Linked DNA regions of Homo sapiens: region 1 is linked to region 2. Evidence: promoter capture Hi-C in human tissues and cell types (Jung and others, 2019). All regions are on one chromosome and are shown on one strand. The core of a region is centred on a gene start or on the middle of the fragment in contact, and the rest is flanking DNA. Distances in the headings are between cores, read along the strand shown.

Region 1 (2,700 bases), core at 51-2,550, 410 kb after region 2:
AGAGAACGAGTCATTGAAAAGCAAGCTGGAGCATGCCAACAAAGAGAACTCAGATGTGATAGCTCTATGGAAGTCCAAACTGGAGACTGCCATCGCATCCCACCAGCAGGCGATGGAAGAACTGAAGGTATCTTTCAGCAAAGGGCTTGGAACAGAGACGGCAGAATTTGCTGAACTAAAAACACAAATAGAGAAAATGAGACTAGATTACCAACACGAAATAGAAAATTTGCAGAATCAACAAGACTCTGAACGGGCTGCCCATGCTAAAGAGATGGAAGCCTTGAGGGCTAAACTGATGAAAGTTATTAAAGAAAAGGAAAACAGTCTGGAAGCCATCAGGTCGAAACTGGACAAAGCAGAAGACCAGCATCTCGTAGAAATGGAAGACACGTTAAACAAATTACAGGAAGCTGAAATAAAGGTAAAGGAGCTAGAGGTACTGCAAGCCAAATGCAATGAACAAACCAAGGTTATTGATAATTTTACATCACAGCTCAAGGCTACTGAAGAAAAGCTCTTGGATCTTGATGCACTTCGGAAAGCCAGTTCCGAAGGTAAATCGGAAATGAAGAAACTTAGACAGCAGCTTGAGGCAGCTGAGAAACAGATTAAACATTTAGAGATTGAAAAGAATGCTGAAAGTAGCAAGGTTTGTATTGACATCCTCCATTCTTTTCTTTTCCATTTGTTATTCTTGTTTTGCATTATGTTACTTTTGAGTTGAGATCATTCATCTTCCAAATTGCTGATTTAATTAAATTGCTTGATGTCCCCAGTTGAGTATAGTGTAGTATGTTCTGAGTATCTCAAGTATGGTTTCATCTGAGGAGATTAGAGAAAATAATGGCTCAACCATGTGAATTTATTTTGGTTGCCTGTTATCTGGGTACCTGATCTATTTATCTCTGGGCTATGCTGTGACTTCTAATTTAAGCTTAGCTCCAGTCTATAATCTGTTTAAAATAAAGAATGCCCTAACACTATGGTGTTAAGATGAATGAATGAACAGAAACTCAAAAGATCGGCCAGGCGCAGTGGCTCACGCCTGTAATCCCAGCACTTTGGGAGGCTGAGGCAGGTGATCACCTGAGGTCAGGAGTTCGAGATCAGCCTGGCCAACATAGTGAAACCCCATCTCTACTAAAAATACAAAATTAGCCTGGCATGGTGGCGGACACCTGTAATCCCAGCTACCCAGGAGGCTGAGGCAGGAGAATCACTTGAACAACCCGGGAGGCGGAGGTTGCAGTGACCTGAGATTATTCCACTGCACTCCAGCCTGGGAGACAGAGCAAGACTCTGTCTAAAGGAAAAAAAAAAAAAAAGCTTAAAAGATCATCTCCTCCTCTTCTAACCACATATAGTCAGGTGCCACATAATGATGTTTCAATCAACAATGGACCACATAAACAAAGGCGGTTCCATAAGATTGTAATATGGTATCTTTACCTTTTGTATGTTTAAATATGCTTTGATACACAAATACTTAGCATTGTGTTACAGTTGCCTACAACATTCAGTACAGTAACATTTTATACAGGTTTATAGTATAGGAACAATAGGCTGTGCCACGTAGCCCAGGTGTGTAGTAGACTATACCTTCTAGGTGTGTGTAAGTGCACCCTGTGATGTCCCCACAACAATGAAATGCCTAATGATGCATTTCTCATAAGATATCCTGGTTCTTAAGCAATGCATGACTGTAATTGCTTATCTATAGGGTTATGTATAAAAACAGACTGAATTCAGTGCTTCTTGACTATTATAAATTAACATGTTGGCCGGGCAAGGTGGCTCATGCCTGTAATCCCAGTGCTTTGGGAGGCTGAGGCAGGCGGATCAGTTGAGGTCAGGAGTTTGAGTCCAGCCTGGCCCCTGTCTACTAAAAATACAAAAATTAGCCAGGTGTGGTGGTGTGCGTCTGTAGTCCCAGCTACTCAGGAGGCTGAGGCACAAGAATTGCTTGAACCCGGGAGGTGGAGGTGGCAGTGAGCTGAGATCGTGCCACTGTACCCCATCCTGGGCGACAGAGCAAGACTCCATCTCCAAAAAACAAAAAAAAACCCATGCTGTGATAAATAACATTCACAGCAAAATTAAGGGTAAGAGCTTGGAGCCCTTTGCATGGCAGAAATCTCATTGGAGTTTTTTTCTGTGGCATAATGAGAACATGATCTGTCCCCTCCTTTTCTGGGGGAAATACTGAACAAGTGTGCATGTGGTCAAGGCTTAGGAAATTACGTGAAACATTCGCCAGCTGCATTCCTTACTAACTAGCCTTGTTAAATGTCATCTTTATCTTTAAAGGTGGTTCGAGGAATTGTTTCCCAGTCCTGCCACTAGTTGAGGCACTGGTATTGATGCTCAATGTTCTGAACTTTTTTGTGGGAGAAGCTGCTCTATTGGCAAAGAAGGAAGGGTTGTGATGGTTAAATGGGGTGAGGTGAGGACTGACAAACAGCAAAAAATTGCTAACTAACCATAGTCGAAGATGACAAACTGGTTACAGGAAATTTTTCTCAAATCTCCTCATGTGGTTCCGAAATACTAATCAAAACACAAAAATTAATTAGAAGATAATATTTAGCTAATGCTAGTTTACTTTTTAACATCAAGATTTCATGAAAGCCAAGTTCTAATGACTATTGTCCAGTGGATTTTTTTGTTTTGTTTTGTTCTGTTTTTTTGAGACAGTCT
Region 2 (2,718 bases), core at 84-2,583:
CCCCACCTTCTCATCCAGTCCTTGCCATCCTTAACTCATAATCTTCCAAGAAGCCCTCCTTTGACAGCTAGACTAGCATACACCTTGAGGACCTTCAGGCTGAAATAACCTAGTTGCACATCCTGTTACAAATGGACTGTAAGCTTCTTCAGGCAGAGTAGCCAGACACAAATCACCCAGGTGGGGAAACTCTGTTAATTCATGCCTCCTCCTCCCCAGGACTCCTCTCCCCCAGTACAAACTCACCAAATGAAAAGGATGGGGAAGAAAGCTTACCAAATGTCAAACTGTTATTACAATGCATAAAAGTATAGTGAGTAAAAGTCATTCTGTGGCTACCAACACTTGCCTCCACAATAAAGGACTCGAAGTGGGTAATCGGCATCTAACTTGGCACTGTTCCTTGGGTCTCCTTTGCAGTCAGCCCCGCTGGATTCAGAAATGTCAGCAGCCATTTCACAAACCTGTAAGCAAGGAAAATAACACACCCTCACTATTTTAGAATCAAGACCCCAGAAGAGCAGTGTTCCTCTCAACAGAAACCTCCCCACCCCAAAGCTGTTTCAAGTCTGTTGTTGAGTGGGGGATACAAGCTGCATTCGATTCATAAAATATGAGCAATCCCAGGCACAACATCTCCTTGCTCCACAGGTCTACAGGGAAGCAAGCAGCAAATGGACCATGAAGGATGGGGCAGAGGGACTCACTAGAGAAAAACAGGAAGCAATGGGGAAGGAAAGATGGGGTGAGTACCCACGGCAGACACGGAGCAAAAAGGTCTGAGGGTGATCTGGGAGGGATGCAAACTGCAGTGAGAGAAGGGCTACAAAGGCGCCGAATGGAGAGAGGCTGGAAGTGCCTAGGAACAAGGGGTGGGTCATCGGAGAAGCCCGGGGTGCAGGGTGTGGGGGCAACTAAACGCCATGAGAGGGGCCTGGGGAGTCTAAAAAGGGCATGGGAGGGGGCGGGGTAACCAGAGCGTAAGAAGGATGAGGAGAGAAAACGAGCGCAGAATGTAAGAGCACTGAGGGGACAAGGGCGACCAGGTCTGAGGCGAAGGAGCAACCCCGGGGACGCCAGAAGGGGCCCTTGTGGGCGGGGGTGTGGAGAGGCCCGGCCCGGCCCCCTTCCGCCAGGCAGCATCTCAGCTTCCCCCACACTCTCTACGAGCTTCTCGGGAGCGGGAGAAGCACTTGGGGTCGTTACCCAGGCGGTCGCACAGGCCCCGCCGGCTCCGCTCCCGCCGCTATCGCCAGCTGAACCAACACATGCAACTCGTCTCCCCGGCCAGGGCCGCCCGAGCGCCCGACCGCCAGCAGCGCTCCCGCGAGACAATGAGCCTTTATCGCGAGATTCCGGCCGCCGCTGGGCGGATGTCGCGAGAAGCCGGAAGACGGGGGCGGAGAAAAATTGCGGAGCGTGCGCCTTGCCCTCCGGTGGGGGGCGTGGCCAAGAGGCCGAGAGGCGGGCCGCCGGCAGGCGGTGCTCGTCACCCGTTGGAGAGGATGAATCCTCGAGATGGGCGTGCCGAAGGGAACGTGACTTGCAGACGCAGAGAGCGCACCTGAGTCACAAATGACTCCCTATTAATGAGTCCGAGGATCATCGCCTCGGTGTCTGCGGTGCATCCTGGAGTCCTGACTAACCTCCAGCTACTGCATAAATCACTCCCGTGCGGGGAGATTGCAGCCGGATAGAGCGTTTGGTCGCATTTTAACACCATGCACTGAATTAAAGGAAGGTGTTCTCCCTCCCTCCCTCCCTCCCTTCCTTCTTTCCTTCCTCTCTTCTTTTCTCTCTCTCTTCGCCGGATGGAGCGTTTGGTTGCGTTTTAACACCATACACTAAATTAAAGGAATTCTTTTTTCTTTCTTTTCTGTTCTTTCTTTTCTTTCTTCTTTCTCTTCTTTCTGTCTCTTTCTTCCCCTTCCCTCCCTCCCTCCCTTCCTTCCTTCTTTCCTTCCTTCCTCCCTCCCTTCCTTCCTTCCTCCCTCCCTTCCTTCATCCTTTTCTTTATGTTTTGACAGGGTCTCACTCTGTCACCTAGGCTGGATGGAGTGCAGTTGCACAAACACGGTTCACTGCAGCCTCGACCTCCCAAGTAGTTGGGAATACAGGCGCGCGTTACCACACCCAGCTAATTTTTAATTTGTTTATAGAGGTGGGGGAATCTCCCTATGCTGTCCAGGCTGGTCTCGAACTCCCGGACTCAAGGGATCCTCCCGCCTCCGCCTCCCAAAGTGCTGGGATTACAGGCGTGAGCCACCGCGCCCGGCCTACAATTTTTTTTAATGAAAAAAAGAAAAATGTAAGAGTATGGGAATATATGGGGAAAAGAAAGATCAGATTGTTACTGTGTCTGTGTAGAAAGAAGTAGACATAAGAGACTCCATTTTGTTCTGTGCTAAGAAAAATTCTTCTGCCTTGAGATGCTGTTAATCTGTAACCCTACCACCAACCCTGTGCTTCCTGAGACCTGTGCTGTGTCAACTGAGGGTTAAATGGATTAAGGGCTGTGCAGGATGTGCTTTGTTAAACAAATGCTTGAAGGCAGCATGCGCCTTAAGAATCATCACCACTCCCTAATCTCAAGTACCCAGAGACACAATACACTGCAGAAGGCCGCAGGGACCTCTTCCTAGGAAAGCCAGGTATTGTCCAAGGTTTCTCCTCATGTGATAGTCTGAAATATGGCCTCGTGGGAAGGGAAAGACCTGA

What was found. Contacts are between HindIII fragments. The study calls those that stand out against the background at their distance.
Region 1: a fragment that was not itself captured here is called in contact with the fragment with the promoter of DENR in region 2 in 1 of the 25 tissues and cell types used here (psoas muscle).

The regions. Positions count from the first base shown.
Region 1 is chr12:122,338,705-122,341,404 of GRCh38, reverse strand. CLIP1 (CAP-Gly domain containing linker protein 1) reads left to right here. Exons shown (of 26, transcript NM_001247997.2): 11 at 1-652. Among named protein-coding and RNA genes, the nearest start is that of CLIP1-AS1, 55 kb to the left of the region's middle. The HindIII fragment of the contact is 3,429 bases long and covers 1-2,700 here.
Region 2 is chr12:122,751,439-122,754,156 of GRCh38, reverse strand. DENR (density regulated re-initiation and release factor) reads right to left here and starts at 1,333. Exons shown (of 8, transcript NM_003677.5): 1 at 1,207-1,333; 2 at 350-464. The coding sequence starts at 455. RefSeq lists enhancers at 825-884, 1,976-2,718 and a silencer at 1,025-1,074. The HindIII fragment of the contact is 19,306 bases long and covers 1-2,718 here.